Linked DNA regions of Homo sapiens: regions 1, 2, 3, 4 and 5 are each linked to region 6. The links are contacts of gene promoters, found by promoter capture Hi-C in blood cells and fetal thymus (Javierre and others, 2016). All regions are on one chromosome and are shown on one strand. Each heading gives the region's core, a stretch centred on a gene start or on the middle of the fragment in contact. The rest is flanking DNA. Distances are from core to core; before and after follow the strand shown.

Region 1 (2,802 bases), core at 223-2,722, 1.2 Mb before region 6:
TTAGGCTTTGGCTTAAGGGAATGTTGTACTGGTTTGATCATCTATGCAGACGACTAAAATTTTCTGTGTATCAGCCATAAGGCTCTTTGACTTTCTTCTCATTCATGTGTTCACTAAAGTAGCACCTTTAATTTCCTTCAGGAGCTTTTTCTTTGTATTCACAACTTGGCTAACTGGGCACAAGAGTCCTAGTTTTCAGTGTATCTCAGCTTTGGATATATGCCTTCCTAAGCTTCATCATTTGTAACTTTTGATTTAAAGTGAGAGACATGTGACTCTCTCACTTGAACACTTATAGGCCATTATAGGGTTATCAAGTCATCTAATTTCAATATTGTTGTGTTTCAGAGAATAAGGAGCCTCAGGAGAGGGAGAGGGGAATGACAGGTTGATGGGGGAGTTAGAATACACATATTTATTGGTTAAGTACACTGTCTTATATGGGTGTGATTTGTGCTACCCCAAAACAATTATAATAGTAATGCCAAAGATCACTGATCACAGATCACCATAACAGATACAGTGAAAATGGGAAAGTCTGAAGTATTGTGAGGATTACCAAAATGTAACATAGACGCACATACTGTTGCAAAAATGGTGACAGTAGACTTGCTCAATGCAGAGTTGCCACAACCTTTAATTTATAAAATTGCAGTATTACAAAGTACAACAAAGTAAAGTACAATTACATGAGTTATGCCTTTATTAACATGGTCATACTACTCAGTCATCTCAGATTCAATGTATTCCCTATCAAAATCCAAGTAGCATTTTCTATAGAAAAATAAAAATCAATCTTCAAATTCATATGGAAACACAAAGGACCCTGAATAGCCAAAAGAATCCTGAGAAAGATCAAACCTGGAGGCTTCTCTCTTTCTAATTTCAAAATACGTTAAAAAGTAACAGTATTGCGACAGTATGGTACTGCCATGAAGCCAGACATACTGATTAATGGAATTGAATAGAGCGCCTAGAAATAAGCCCACACGTTTATTATGGTCAACTGATTTTCGACAAGGGTGCAAGAATATATAATGGGGAAAGTATAGTCTCTTCACCAAATGGGGCTGGGAAAACTGTATATCCACATGCAAAGAAATTGGATCCTTAGATCCTACACAAAAAAATCAATTCAATGTGGATTAAAGACTTAAGAGTATGACCTGAAACTGAATGTTCTGGAATAAAACAGGGGAAAGGTTTCCTGGCACTGGCCCTGGCCATGATTTTATATACATATATACATATATATGAACTGATACAGAGGTGTATATATATTTGGATAGTTTTAAAAGTAAAGTAAAAATGTATAACCTATTAATTGCTATATGATAATGTAAGGTTTTAACAAACATGTAAACGAAAACATCAAAAGCCATGAATTTCAGTTTATTGTGAGGTAATAAAGTGAACAGAAACACACACTTCACCTGTGTTTAATTTAATTTTACTAAATTTAACATTGTTTATTGTATTTCATCTATTCTAAAACACCATTATCTGTAAAAGGCTTTATCATTTTATGTATCATTCAGAAGGGAAAAATGCTAATTAAACTATGCTTAACTGTCAATTTTAAGATAGAGCCGTATTTCAGAGATGTTAAATAGTGAAACATGGATGTTGTTGATGAAATGTAGACTTTATCTCCTGCATGCCAGGAGTTGTGATCATGTTGCAAACACAAAGATGTTCTCATTGACTTCATATTACAAAACCATTTTTAAAATAAAGATATACAAATTTTATTGTTGAGGAATGAACTAGGAATCTACTCTTTGGTCAGGTGGATGTGGGAAAATCTTTTTCTTGTGGTCAGCATATTTTATTAACGTATAATGTAAAAAAAACTAGTCTGTGTGTAAATGAACATTGCGAAGACTATTAAATACGGAGATAAGTTTTAAATAAACCTCATACTAAGCCTGAAGACTGCAAAGAATGTTTTGTGGAAAATCCTTTTAATATCTGTTGTTGTAGAGGAAAGGGGAACATTAAAGTTGAAGTAGAGAAATTTGTGCTTGAAGACCTATTTTTCAAATATTCTCATTTCAGCTTATTCCCAGAGTCTTCATTTCCCCACCCCATCATACTGTTCAACATAAACTCACATACTTTTCCCTTAGTAGTTTCCTCTCCCCATCAATTTTCTTCAAATGTTACGTGTGCTGCCCCTTCTGGGAGTTAGCCATAAAGATGTAATCACTATGATCCTCTTCGAATTTGAAGTTTTACCTGGTTGAATTTAATTGGCCCACCAAACTTAGGAATAAGCTACATTGTTGCTAATAATGTATCTATAGAAGATATAATTTAAAAAGTTTTTTTAACAAGTTGATCTGCAAATACATCATTTTAAAAAAAACTTAAAATATGATAATATAGACTAAAATGATAGCTCTGTTAAAACATTGATGACAACATTAATTTTCAGTTGTTATTAGAAAAATCATGTTTTCTCATGATAATGTTATTAAATCTTGCATATAAAATGAAAGCCATGGGGAACAAGAATATGTATTATATTTTCATATGTGTCTTATATCTCTATCAGATATGTTTACTTCAATCACTGCAGTCCCGTAGTAAAAAATTCATGGCTAGTAATGAGCCATCTTTTATTACCAAGATAATATGTTTGTTTCTTCTAAGATACTAAATTAAAATGAATGTCATCAATTTTATCTGAACCTGGTCGTTGAAGCTTTTAAATAAATCTTAAGACATAGCAAGATGTCTTGACTACTAGCCAGACAATAAAGTTTTAAAACTCTCTCTAGTAACTTCAGTTACAGTTAT
Region 2 (2,700 bases), core at 45-2,544, 1.2 Mb before region 6:
TTTCCAATTATTCAGTGTACAAAAATTTTGTGTCATGCACAAAATTATTGAAAATATTATAGAAAATTACTTTCAGGTGATGTGTATAACATATATGTGAAACATAAATGAATTTCGTTTTTAGACTTGGGTCTCATCTCTAAGATAGCTCATTATATATATGCAGATATTCCAAAATCTGTAAATATCTGAAATCTGAAACACTTCTGTTTTCAAGTATTTCAGATAAAGAATATTTAACCTATATAGTTTTTTTGTTATGTAAGATGTCTGTTATTCAATCCTGAACTTGTAGGGGAAAAAAAGTGGTATCCCTATAGTCATCCAGTAGTCAGGAGTGCTATATTTATACAAATGAATTAAATTTCCTTGTTTGTAACTCCTTTTGCTTCTAAATCTTTCTTCATAAATATAAATGTGATTTAGGTTATATAGCTTCTTTTAGGTAGGTGTCAATATCTTTGAATAGCATTCTGCATCTCTCTCATTTGAAATCTCCATTAAAAGAAAAATCTCAGTGGTCTATAATTAAAGACATTTGTAGACTAAGTTTAGCAAAACATCTGAGATTAACTATAGAACATTTAATTCAAAACTCTAATTAGTTAACTCTTACGTTTGAACTCAAGGAGTGTTTCACACTGTGGTGGTACAGGCACAAATGCAGAAGTTTTCTTTCCATAGAACTTGTAAGATGGAAGATGTTTATTATTTTTCGGTAGTACCATATTTAAAATTTCTTCTTAGCATTCTTGTAATGACAGTATCTTCAGGATCATATTTAATTAATCCTTAAACTAGTTAAAGCAAGGCATTTTCAGAAACCTTAGTCAAATAGAGGGCTTGAATTCCGTTTAGGTAATGGGTTTCTTAACCATTATATTTTATTGATGCTAAGACACAATATTTTTTCACATTTTAATAGATCTGAAATGGAAATATCTCTTACAGTTGAATGTGTGTGTATATGTATGTGTGTGCACACACGCATATGCATGCACATGTCCATATATTTAGTTTTGATGTAGTGTCCATGCAGCTGATATTCAACCACACTCGTATAGCATACTTTGCAGATACTTTAGTATATTTCCTGACTGGTCAGTGCCCTCATTGGCCCCATATTGGTTATTAAAGTTTTAAATATCAGAAGTATTTTAATTTTTCCCCACTTTCTAAATAACAAATGATCTATTTTTTAGGTTGGAAGCTTTCTTAGAATCTATAGCCTTCATACCAAACTTCAATCAATGAATTCAGAGAATCAGACAATGTTAAGTTTAGAGTTTCATCTTCATGGAGGTACCAGTTACGGTCGGGGAATCAGGGTCTTGCCAGAAAGTAACTCTGATGTGGATCAACTGAAAAAGTAAGCTTTTAGTATTTAGAAAATGTAAATAAGGTATCGATTAAGCCGATTTCTAAGATAATATTGTTCCTGGGGCTTCTGATAGTTCCCTAGCCTTTTGTGCCATTTGCCATGTTTTTAAATAGATGAGCCAAATGAAACAAATCAAATGATTATAGGCTCATAGAGCTAAGTAGTAGCAGAGCCAGGGTTATAGTTGAAGTTTTCCAACAGTTTGAATCTGGCTTTTACACTCATGCTTCTCTTCTATCATTTACCACACTCTCCAAGTACAGCAACAAACAGGGGAAACTAGACCTTAGCTAAAGTTTGGAAAATTTGATACATATCTAAGATTCCAAAAATATTTAATTCTCTCATGAAAAAAATGTATTTCTGAAGTGCCACTGATTAAATAGATAACACATGTTTTGGTGTATCACTCTCTTTTAAACTTTTTAAAATTTTTACATGTGCCAGAAAGTAAATAGTATCTTAGACCTGCTATATATTTAGATCTGCTTTTCCCAAGGTATTCCTAGTGAGTATTGTGTGCAGAAGCATTTTGGTCAATATTCTAGAAATTTAAAAAATCTTCATATCTTCAAAGAGAAAACATACTGTTCATTAAATTTAAATAACTTTTGTCTACATTTTAATTCATTGGAATTAGTGTGACATTAAATTAGCTTCTGTTTTATTACTTTTATATCAATTTCACTGATTTTTAATATCATATTTAGCTTCTTGAATCTAGAGTTAGATTGTTCTGACTCAGAATGCTATCCATTAAATTCCCAGTTTATTTTTGTTTGTATTATTTCATCATTCTGCTGTTTCACTTGTATCTTTCTAAACTCAGATTTTTAATTTGAACCCCCGGAAAATCTGATGAAAGCAATAGATCCTTTACTGAAGAATGCATATACATACAAAATTTTATATACAATTTCAATGAATTTCTGGATTTTGTGGGTAGAGCTAAATTTACTATATTGACTTTGTTTTATGCAATTTGAAATTGTATTCTTTCAATTATAGGGATTTAGAATCTGCAAATTTGACAGCCAATCAGCATTCAGATGTTATCTGTCAATCAGAACCTGACGACAGCTTTCCAAGTAAGGATAATCTTTAACATTGACAGTTTAGTTCTTGCTAAATAAAATAGTTTTATCAACATAATTCTTTGTAATGTCTTCTCTTTGTCTCTCTTATTAATAATTTCATGTAGTAGAGGAACATACTAAAATCTTTATCTGTGGCCTATGCCAAAAAGTAAACATGGTTTCTTCCTAAATTATATAATTACGTTTTCAAATTGGGTGGTAGTGATTACTTGATTATGATAT
Region 3 (2,814 bases), core at 229-2,728, 1.1 Mb before region 6:
CTAACTTTGTCATGGTGCCTTCTAATTAAATGTCTACTTACATGATTAAATTGCCTATTACCACGTAAGCTTCTTGAGGATTTGGGCCATAAACTGCTTTTCTCACCATTGTATATCTAGTCCACCTAGCACAGTATGTGGCACATAGGAGGCAGGCAATAAATATTGCTGAATAAAGAGATTAATATATATTTGAAGATCATTAGGCTTGGAATAAGTGGCCAAATAATAAGTATTATCCTAATTAGACATTCTTCAAAAACAATATAATGACTAAGCGTTTGTTTGTTTGTTTGCTTGTTTAAGAACAAAAAGTATCAGCCATTGTTCCTAGCAGCACTGAACTGCTTGTAGTTCCATACACACCATCCTTTTTCTCTTCTCCCAGTCTGCTGATGCCAGTCACTCTGTTGCAACATGGATTCTTTGTCCACTCACTTCAGTATCTTACTCCATTCACCTCCTTCAGGAAGCCTCTCAGAATTCCTGACTGGTTTGCCCCTTTCCTTCACTCTCAAAAACCTTGGTTTTCAGTCCAAGTTCTATTTCTATTACACTACATGATGTAGGGCAAATAATCTCACCCACTTTGGTCTCAGTTTCCTTATTTCTGAAAGGAATGGGGAGTACTGTATGATTGACTTTTAATTGTTTTTTAGCAGTCAAATTCTCTTATAAGTACAATTCTTTTATGAAGTCCAATATTTACATTGATTAAAATCTTATCAGAGATCAAATGTGTCTTTTCTTTAGTGAGCTGAAAAGCATCTTGAAATCTTAGAAGGGACGCTGCCCACATACTACAAGGCCCCAAAGACACCACCCTTGTGAACATTTCGCAGTCACTAGGAGGTGCTTCTTTTGGACCACCACAAAGATCTTTAGTCATGTTATCACATGTGTGTAGTCTCTTTAACACAAGAGGAGATAATCAGTTTCCTTGCTGTCTAAAACTCAAAACTAAAGTTTTGTTTTGGTGCTCAGGGATGCTCAGGGAAGGATATTGAGTTCATGAAGAAATAAGCAGGAAACTAGCTTTGAAAAAGCATTCCATGGACCAGCTGGGGCCTTGGAAGACAATGCAAACACTAGAAACTAGTCATGTCAGGCAATCCAAATTTCATAACCTTGGGCCAAATCTTAAAATTCTATTAAGTTGATCATTCAAAATGTCTACATTATCAGGTCAATTTGTTGTGATAATACTGAGTCACACCCTCTCAACATCCTGAGTGAATTAAAAAAACTAAATATAACACAGAGATACTTTTTTCTTTCTTTCTGGACCTCAATCCAAATAAAGAAAATATCACCTGCAGAAGATTCTAAAAAGTGAACAAGCAAATCAGGAAGATTATACTAGAAAAGCTATTTGTTGTTGTTTTTGACCAGTCTTTAGGGTAGTTTTATAACTCTCACAAAGCAGATATTGTTTTGGTACTATTTATATTTCAACCACTAATCAGGAAAATAATGCTAAATGTGCCAAGACTCAGGTCTTAGACGTACGTGTTCATTGAATTGATTTCTTTGCCAGAGCTAAAATTTAATAGGTTGCCAGGAGAGCCAAATCAATGGTGTATTATCTTTTAAAATCCCTTCTATCTCAACTTTTCACTTTTCATATAGAAATCCATGCTCTTCCTTACTGACTCTGTATACAAAAATTATTCTGGTCAGAATACTAAAAATTCCAATTTGCTAGCCTTTGTTATTTGAACCAGGCTGACACTTCTGCAATTTGGCTTGACTTGCATTTATTCTAGTGTATTATCCAGTATCAACATTACACAGAAAACTAATTTAAATAATAATGCTTGGTCAGAGATGGAGCAACAATATAGAATAAGATGATTTGGTTTAAACAGTCTCAGAAGGAATCTTATTGATATAGCATACAGCTTGTACCCAAATTCTGGGAGAAGGAAGTAAAATGTATCTTTATATCACATTTATTTTGGTATATCTTTATATCACATTTATTTTGGTATTATAAAGATACAATAAAATGTATCTTTATATCACATTTATTTTGGATAATTGTTAAAAAGTTCAGCTTACTATGATTTTTGGAAGATTTACAATTAATGTGCTTGCTAGGGAAAATACACAATTTGAGAAGTCATGAGAGGCTGAAGCCTGAGATGGTCTGATCTCCTGCTACATTGCTATTGGCTGAGGGCCAACTAAGTATCCAAATTATCTTTGCTTCAAAAAGGATGTTGATCAAAAGGTAGGGGTGCATTTCACAAGCATTTATTTCTATAAAGAATTATGAAAGGTTGAGAATGTTTGGTTATGCTTGTGTTAATTCATCTTCAGTTTCACCCTTTTGCATTCAAGTTTCTTTACAAACAACAACAACAACAACAACAAACCGAATCCAACAAAACCCAAAGGACTTGGCTATGCAATTAGTGTGCTGGTCCAAGTATGGTTCAAACATATTTTATGTAGCCCAATGTCTACATTTTTGTCTGGAATAAATAAAAGACTATTTTGATTATTGTTGTTTTATTTTAAATTTTAAGTACTTTAATTTTGATATTTGATTTTTAAGGTAGACATAACCATATTGATATTATATTCCAAGCAGTGCCATTTCCCACCCGTTAATGATAATTTGGCTCTTATATATGGCAAAAGAGAGAGGTGATTAATGAAGGTGATCAATGGAGGCTTCCAAACTAACAATTAATAATTCAGTGACAGAAAGGCTGCAACCACAAACTATTTGGAAAACAGACAAATTTTGAATTTCAGAAAATAATAATCTATTGGTGGTATGTTACAGTTTCTTTCAGAAAAAATGAC
Region 4 (2,700 bases), core at 45-2,544, 1.2 Mb before region 6:
TTTCAGAGTTATTTATTTTGTTTTAATGGTTAAATCGCTTTTTTTGTTTTTGTTTTTGTAGATGCATATCCGTGGTTGGAATGCTTCATCAAGTCATACAATGTCACAAATGGAACAGATAATCAAATTTGCTATCAGATTTTTGACACCACAGTTGCAGAAGATGTAATCTAATATTGCCATCCAATTTAGCATACATAAAATGTTGCCACTCACCTTCCCTGTTTGAGCTTCTTTTCCTGACCTGAGTTTTGTATCAGCAATGTTGATGATGTTAGCATGGGTATGGGATTAGAAAATGTCCTTACCTTAAATCTCTTGGCTTTTACTGGGTGCAAGGTAAATAATGGCTATGGATTTTGTTTTGCTTTCTGTTTTGCTTTTGTACAAAGAGACCTGCTTAAACAAGTACTGCTGAGATAAGTGTCTGATCAAGCTACAGTGTACTTTAAGTAGAAATGGCAAAGTTGCTTTGTTGGGGTGCTGATACTGATGATTTTAGGATAAATTCATTTCTTTAAACTTGTAATACATGGTTTTATTGCTTGTTTCTCTCCAGGATAGTAGAGATTTCTCTATTTCACCTCAACCTAATAAAAGTGGTCAGATTTATAATGTTAATGACTTAATATTATCCTTTTCTAATAGTCTCATGTAAAATATGCCGCTATTACAACTTACAACTAATTGAATGAGATGTTAACTTAGTAAAATAGTTTGATTTTTACCTGACAGTGTTTGTCAAATTTAAAATCATGAATATTCAATTTTATACAAACATTTATATATATATATATAGATTTGTGTATGTTATTTGCCAAAGACAGATATAAATTACCTGGTTTAATATTAGTGAAGAATAAATAAGTGCACACATTTCAACTGTTTCATTTATTTGCCCTAAGTTGAGCTGAAAAATGATATGAGGCAAAGAATCGAAATAGGTGTGGCAATGCAGCAGATGTTTAGGGCTGTCTACATCCCAGGTACTGTGCTAAGCACTAAACATGTATTTGATCCTCACAGCAACCTATTTTTCCGATAAGAAATCTGAGGCTTGATTGATAAGCTGACTTGACTAAGTTCACACAGTTTGTAAAAGCTAGAGTCTGTGCCTTAATTCACATAATCTCTATTCAGAGCCTGTACTGTTAACCACTCAAGGATTCTGGAACAGAAGCTAACAGTTTTCTGCAACGAGTCTTTGACTTAAACATCTGAAATAACATTGGAAATAGATTATAAGAGGAGTCAGTGTGTTTTTCTATAGTTTCAAAATACTTTTAACATCTTATTGTCAAAAAGATTGGATAACTGACTTTCTTTGCTCATAATAACTCTAAATTCTAGTTCCTGAGTACATTAACACATCTTCTTTACCTAACTACCAATGTCCCCCATCATCGACTTATCAGCTTGTTTGAGACAATGAGAAAGACTGATTTTATTTTCAAGAATATAGACTCTTGGTTCAAAACATTTTCAGGAAAAATATTTTAAAACCCTACAGTTGAACAGGTGTGTTTCCGTGTTGATGATGTGCTCAGGATACAAAGGTGAAATAAACATTTTTTCTGCCTTCAGGAAGCCCTCAATCTAGAAGAGTAGAGGTCCAAAGGTGCCATATGTTCACACTGTGAGCCTGCAAGATCTCCACGTTAACAAAGGAAAACTCTTCCTATGAATCTTCATGATGATAGGCCATGTCTCTTCTTATTTTTGTTTTAAATAAACATCCACCTTATCATGATTTCTTTTGGTTTATTGTGGGGTTTTGTCCTTGTCTTTTTAAAAAAATTTTCAGTTTTTAGCAAGAATTATTCCATCAACATCTAGTGTTTCTCTAGAGATGATGTATGCACTTTATGCTAATCAGGAACCCAGAGAGGAGAATTTTATTTCTGGAGCAACAACTAAATGGTAGTTCATTGTGCCCCAATTTGATCCCTGCCCCTTTCTGTAAACACTGATAGAATCTTCCTGTCAGATTTTAAATTACACAAATTTAAGAAAGAAGTTTGTGTACAGACTCACCCTCAGTTTCCACTTTCTGCAGCTTCCATTTTTTAAGACACTACTGGATTGACTCATGCTGTCCCTGTATTGTTCTTAGAATGTATGTCTTAGAAAAATCTGAGACAGTCCATTATTCTTTATCTGGATGTAGCAATGAGAAACACACTACTTACAGGCTTTTTCTGTGGCCACCTTCAATTATACTGCTGTATTTGAGGGAACTATACATGCCAAGATACAATGTATCATTCCTCATTTCTTTTTACCCCTGCTCATGCTTTAAGTTGGAAATTGTTTCTAAATAATTATAGAAAGACTGATGTTGATGGTCTAGAAGAAGCTGACTATACCTCTGTCTACCTAAAAAAGTCTCTTCACCCATTTGGGTACTGGCTGCCCAGATTTCAAATTGGTGTAGATCCTGTGCCTTAGCTACTTGGAGGTAACAGAAAAGGACCAAAATCTTTTTCCTGCCTACTTCCCAGCTGACTATGCAGTCCTGTTTTAGATATCAAAGCATGAATTTGTCACTACGTGTGACTCTGAATCCAGACAATTTTCTTCTATACTTTCTAGAAGCTTTTCTTGGGATCTGGAAAGGCTAAAAACTCTTTTGATTATTTTCAATGTTGTTTTAAATTTGACCGTATATTTCATCAAGTTTTGTTTTTATCTAGACTTTTT
Region 5 (2,904 bases), core at 218-2,717, 1.1 Mb before region 6:
AGATGTGCTCTCTTAAGGCAAGACTTAAGGAATGATTAGGATTGGGAGAGTAACACAGGAAGAGGATGAAGTACAGATTCCTGCTTCAGGAAGAGGAACAAACATGTGCAAAAGCCTAGAGGTGGGAACGGGCATGGAAAATTCAGTAAACCCAACATATCTCAGGCTATTGAAATATGGGGTGAGATAGAATGAGAAGGTTAAGAGAGAGGCTTGTGAGGAAAGCAGGTCCCAGATCATGAAAAATGTGTAAGCGATATTTAGGAATATGTAGTTTATTCCAGAAGCAACTAGACGTCATTAAAGTGCTTTCAAAGCGGGAATGGCATGGCCACATTTGCATTATAGAAAGATAATTCTCACTGCAGTGCAGAGAATGAGTTGGAAAGGGAGTTTGGAAGCACTAGGGTCAGGAAGGCCAAAGAGGATATTGCTGAGTAATCTATGTGAGAGGTAATGGTGACCTAAACTGGGGTGGTGATAATGGAAATAGAGAGAAGAGTAGAGATTCCTGGAATATTTAAGAGGTGTGATTGTAGGACCTGGAATACAAGAGAAGAATCATTGAGGTCTAAACTGAGTTATAAAGGATGTGAATATCAAAATAATTTTGTAGAAGTGGATTCAAAAGAACTGAGATCGCTGTGAAGTAAAAATTAATGTTTAATGGAAGTAACAGAATGCAAGAGCTGGAAGAGTAGCTGGAAGAGTAAGAATCTGTACTCAAATAGTGAACTTTCGGGTTAAGATTTCAGAGGTGGAGAAACAGCAGGTGATGATAAAGCCTAGGGTATGGTATTGAGTGTCTGTAACTAAAGTGGAGCGGAGGTGAAGACCATTAAGATCACTGGAGACAGAAAGCCAAGGAAACAGTAGATGTAGTGCTGCATGAGATTTCCACTTTTTTTTGAATTGTAAAATGAAGATTGAGGCAGAGATGAAAACTGCGAATCAGATCCTCAAGCTTTCAGTGAATGAGAATTACCAGGAGGTCAATTCATGAGAGAGTTAAGAAGGAATAGAAGGTTGTATAGACTAAATGACATCATACTAAAAGAACTTGTCTCTGTTACTCAGAAGAAACAGAAAAATTTCCTTCAGTGACATTCTTCTGACATCTTCCAGATGGAAGCTCATTAGTAGAGTAGTTGCTCTTATCCAAGTTACATCTTTGACATCTCTTTACCTGAGTTAACCTCTGCTGATTCATCACTTTATTATTCCTTTAAATTCCAGTTCTTCTGATGTCCTACCAGTGGTTTCTCCTATCCTAACATTAACAGCCCTTTGGAAATGTGTGCAAGTATGTGTGCCTGTGTGTGTGTGTGTGTGTGTTTTTATGTGCTGAGTGGAGGTAAAGGTCATTCTACCTGTACAGTTTTGTGTCTCATTTTTGCTTCATAGAAATGATGATCCTTTGGGTCCAAAAGAGAAACAAAAATGAGGCATGTGCTGAGAAGTCAGCTAAATATGCAATGGACATAGACAAGCACCAACGATTGAAAAGTAAAGTTAGAGGATCACAAAGAGCAGCGTTGGGAAGGAGAGATGTTGAGTCTCCACCCTGTTTTAGATAGACTGCTGTATTTGAGATTCTGGATTTTCAGGACTTCATTGGAGCCAGAATGAAATTATAGGTTTGCAGGAGTTAGTCTTCCTATTAACGAGTGCTATGGGGAAATGAAAGTGGGATGGAGAGGGAAACCAGGATTAACAGACCCAACAGTCATGAGGGCCTCTCATTCCAAAAATAAATGCCGTAAAACAGGAAATTCAGGGTCTTCTACCCGACTGCAGACAGTGACATCATTGAGAGCAAAAAATTATAGCTTATAATTTCTTTGCCCTTAGGGGCCCCTGCAATTTTATTATAATGGTTTTAGGTGTTAATTAATTGTTTTCAGCTTGGGATTCATTGAGCTTCCTGAATTTAAATACCGATGTCCCTTAACAGTTCTGGAAAAGCTTTAGCCACCATCTCTTCCAATGTCTCTGCTATTCTTTCTGGAACTTTGAATAGCTGCATATTTCTTTTACTCTGTCATTTACTTTTCCTACTTGTGCTTTCACATTCTGGATAATTTCTTTTCCCTGCAGATTCAATCATTCTCTTTTCAACTATACAAATCTGCTGTATAATCCTTTCTCTGGGTTTCTTCATTTTAAGGTTTATCTTTTCAATATCTTGAAGTTCTATTTTTAGAAAACTAAAGCCAGGACTAACTTAACTTAAAATTTCCCCTCAAACTTTCTTCAGACAAGAAAAATGGTGAAAATTTGAACTAAAGACTCGCGAGAAAGCTTGCTAATGGTTATAAATCCTCTAAGGAGGCACCAAGTTCTGGACAGACATATTTCTTTTTGATCCTTTTCTAAAGGAGAGGATTTACTTCTCATTCACCTTTGCTCCGATCGTTTAGTACTCTGGGGTCCAAGCTGTATTAAGGTTTTAGGCTTTATCTCCTTCCTCCTTCCACCCCAGTCCTGCCACGGGGTTGTCAGAAACCACTGAGAGCAAAGCTAATTTTGTCATTTACTGCTCAGTGTTTCTGCTTTCACTTCAGAGTTGGGCTCTCTGCTCCTTCATTTTGAGCCAAATCAGATAGGCATGTAAAAAGATTTTCTGTTGGTATAGCTGGCACTCTTGTTTCAGTAGGAGGACCACGCTGGGTATCCAACTTGAGAGACGTTAAAGTGAAGCAGGCAGAAATCCGCTTCTGAGAGAGGGCTTCCTGAGAGTGATGGTGAAAGTTACTGGAAGTAATGGGAGCAGAAAGGGTTTGTACCAAGGCTCCTGAAATCACGCAGGATGAAGCAGAAATCTACTCTTTGACAAACATGGAGGTATGATCAGAAACTAAGACAATGGAAATAAAGAAAAGGCTGGCTTGTGTCAAGGAAGCA
Region 6 (2,871 bases), core at 159-2,658:
TGTTCTTCCATAATTCCGGAAGAATTTTTTTTTTGTTATATGGACACTTTATTGTCATTACTGTTTTCCCAGAGAATAATAGTCTTTTGGACTTCCTTCTGGTATTGACTCATTTGGCAAATTCAAAATAACTGTTTACTGGGCAGTACACAAGAGCTTTATAGGCCTGAGCTCTGATATAAGCACATTTCCTAACCTCAGGATCACCATCGTAAAGGAGACAGAAATCGAAGAGATCATCTATACAGCTGTGCTGCCCCTGAGTCCTCAGATGGGTTTCAGGATGTGTTATCATTTTGAAATTCTATGCAAAAGTTGGTGTATTTTGCACAAGCCCAGGGCTATTTTCTTAAGAAGGTTCATAACTTATCAAAATCTCAAAGGGGTTCTTGATTCGCAAAAGAAACACTGTCTCTAACTCCCTCAATGTCCAGAGGGAAAGAGAACCCTGTAAAAGTGATTGTTCAAGGTCTAAAGATGTGGGAACAGAGCAGGGACTCATAACAAGGCCCTGTGACTCTCAGTGTCATGTACTTCCCACCACCCCACACTTCTTGGTATTGGAAAAGAACTATTTCACCATAGCTACTATCACAGTCAAAGCAACCAGCGTTCCCACTTTTGTCTTTATAGGAGAAAATAAATGTACTTAACTGAAAAAAAAGTATACATTTATACGTATGCATGTATCTTGGGAACAAATATTATGCCACATTACCAACATATAGCTCAAACAACACTTATGTTTGGCAAAATATTGAATCCCATACACTGATTGTGAATTATTTTCCTCTTGAGCTTTCTATTTGTAATCAATCAAAGAGCCCCAATTAAGAATTTTACATATTATGATCCATTGGGTGGCCATAGCATTTACATGATTATTTCAGCCTGAAAAATGATTTAGTAGCAAGTATAAATGGGTTATAGGAAAATTCAAGTGATGAGGATTGAGAAGTTAGGGAAAACAAGTGTCTGGGTTTGGGATGGGGTGATGGGGAGGTGGGGTTAGCCAAGGAAAAGTCCCGAGAGCCTACCTTTCCACATTCCCCCAGCCTCTCCTTCTCCAAGAGTTTTTGGGACTCCTTTTCCCAATAGGCCATCAGTGCCTCTCTGCTGAATGTCCCTGTGGGGGTTTTCTCTGTCAGGCTCTTTTGCCTTAGCCCCACGGGAAGGTTGCGGTCAGGTTCAATGTCTTCCAACTCTCTCTCTAGCTCCTTCAGCTCCTCGGCTGACAGGGAGGCGAGGAGTTCATCCTCGTCGATGGATTCGTATTTACTGAGTCCTCTTCGGTAGCCAAAGGTAGACATGGTCCCTGCTTTGTCAGACCCAGAAGGAGCTTGAAGGACCAGGCATTCAAGGCGGCCAGAAGCAGGCAGGGAGGCAAGTGGCAGGCTGGTCAACAACTGGTGCTAGGAGTGGCTGTGGGAGCCTTTTAAGAGTGGTGATACAGGGCTGTGACAATGCAGAGAGGGGTGAAGGCATGGGCTGTTTTAAGCATCAGACGTCAGCTAGACATTTGAACACAAAGAATGTCACATCGGTGGTGGATGGAGGTCTCAGAACCAGTGGGGATTATTAACATACTGGCCAGGGCCATATTTAGCTGAGTCTGATAGCTCATGAGGACAGGCAGAGTGTTTCAGATAAGGAGTAACACAGTTCTTCTCACTTTGTATTCAAACAACAGGGAAATAAAATTTATTTTGAAAATGACTTGCCACCACCTCCATGGCCATGAAAAGATTCTTTCATTATAATCTTAGGGTTGAGAAATGTCTCCACAATACTCCATGGGTAGTTATTTTGGTTCTTCTATAAACATACTGTAGGTGGTATTGATGGGGACAAAAGGTCATAATAATATAGTATTTCATAATTTTATCCTACTTTGCAGTTTACAAAGCACTTCAATAAGTTTTTCTAATCATAAATACTGTGAGATGAATAACATGATTCTCATTTATAGATGTTGGCAACTGAGGCTCTCAGAGATTAAGTGAAACGTCAGAAGTTGGAGAGCTGAAAGTACAGAGAGGTGTCTTTCTCCACTGAACGAAATGCTTCTTCCTACTCACCATGATTACTAGTAAAAATCTAGACTTGCAAATGAAACTCGAAAAATACAAATAATAATACTGGATATGATTTATTAAGGACTGACATTATGCCATTCCAGTGTTAAGCATTATCTCCTTTAATTCTACAGTCCTGTAAGGTGTACATTAGTGCCTGTACTTAACTAGTACACACTCAGAGAGGTTAAGTTACTAGCATGGGAGCACAGAGCTAAGAAGTGAGAGAGCTAGAATCTGAGCCCAGATTTGTATCTGGCCTGAAAATGGAAGAGATGCTAATTTGAAATTATATATATGACTTAATCACTACATATTATATATATACAACAAATTTTCTTATGTACTCCATACATTTGCACAAATTAAAAAAAGAAATTATATATGAGCATATTGTTGTGTATATGTTAAAATAAATCCATAGTTTATAGGACTCCATAAATATAACACCATTTTATAGATATGTAAAATCTATTAAAAATATTAATGCATACAAAAATACATTTATCAATACATGTATAGTACATGATATTCTGATTATACCTTCAGCAGCTGGTGAATATTTGGGTTGTTTCTAGCTTTGGGTTTCTACCTTTTATCTATGAATAAAGTTTCTATGAACATTTACATGCAAGTGTTTGAGTAACCTCAGGTTTTCATTTATTTTGAGTAGATATGTAGGAGCAGAATTACTGGGTTATATGGTAAATTTACTTTTTAAGAAACTGTAAAAAACTGTTTTCCGAAACGGCTGTACCAATTTACATTCCCATCAGCAATGAATGAGAGTTCCGGT

What was found. The method cuts DNA at HindIII sites, captures the fragments that hold promoters and counts their contacts. A CHiCAGO score of 5 or more calls a contact.
Region 1: a fragment that was not itself captured here is called in contact with the fragment with the promoter of LMOD2 in region 6 in 1 of 17 cell types (total CD4 T cells); the score reaches 5.6 in total CD4 T cells.
Region 2: a fragment that was not itself captured here is called in contact with the fragment with the promoter of LMOD2 in region 6 in 9 of 17 cell types (total B cells, naive CD8 T cells, non-activated CD4 T cells and 6 more); the score reaches 8.7 in total B cells.
Region 3: a contact is called between a fragment that was not itself captured here and the fragment with the promoter of LMOD2 in region 6, in 1 of 17 cell types (M0 macrophages). The highest score is 6.0, in M0 macrophages.
Region 4: a contact is called between a fragment that was not itself captured here and the fragment with the promoter of LMOD2 in region 6, in 1 of 17 cell types (M2 macrophages). The highest score is 7.0, in M2 macrophages.
Region 5: a contact is called between a fragment that was not itself captured here and the fragment with the promoter of LMOD2 in region 6, in 2 of 17 cell types (M0 macrophages and M2 macrophages). The highest score is 5.6, in M0 macrophages.

The regions. Positions count from the first base shown.
Region 1 is chr7:124,886,469-124,889,270 of GRCh38, reverse strand. All of the region lies in intron 6 of POT1 (protection of telomeres 1), which reads left to right. Among named protein-coding and RNA genes, the nearest start is that of POT1, 42 kb to the left of the region's middle. The HindIII fragment of the contact is 2,475 bases long and covers 235-2,709 here.
Region 2 is chr7:124,851,641-124,854,340 of GRCh38, reverse strand. It overlaps POT1 (protection of telomeres 1), which reads left to right. Exons shown (of 19, transcript NM_015450.3): 10 at 1,203-1,369; 11 at 2,390-2,469. Among named protein-coding and RNA genes, the nearest start is that of LINC03043, 62 kb to the right of the region's middle. The HindIII fragment of the contact is 164 bases long and covers 1,213-1,376 here.
Region 3 is chr7:124,769,601-124,772,414 of GRCh38, reverse strand. No RefSeq gene overlaps it. Among named protein-coding and RNA genes, the nearest start is that of GPR37, 5.2 kb to the right of the region's middle. The HindIII fragment of the contact is 2,813 bases long and covers 72-2,814 here.
Region 4 is chr7:124,821,436-124,824,135 of GRCh38, reverse strand. POT1 (protection of telomeres 1) reads left to right here. Exons shown (of 19, transcript NM_015450.3): 19 at 62-1,750. The coding sequence ends at 174. Among named protein-coding and RNA genes, the nearest start is that of LINC03043, 32 kb to the right of the region's middle. The HindIII fragment of the contact is 2,607 bases long and covers 1-2,597 here.
Region 5 is chr7:124,790,484-124,793,387 of GRCh38, reverse strand. It overlaps LINC03043 (long intergenic non-protein coding RNA 3043), which reads left to right and starts at 2,578. Exons shown (of 4, transcript NR_167671.1): 1 at 2,578-2,844. The HindIII fragment of the contact is 1,001 bases long and covers 967-1,967 here.
Region 6 is chr7:123,654,403-123,657,273 of GRCh38, reverse strand. LMOD2 (leiomodin 2) reads right to left here and starts at 1,408. Exons shown (of 3, transcript NM_207163.3): 1 at 1,038-1,408. The coding sequence starts at 1,310. The HindIII fragment of the contact is 9,966 bases long and covers 1-2,871 here.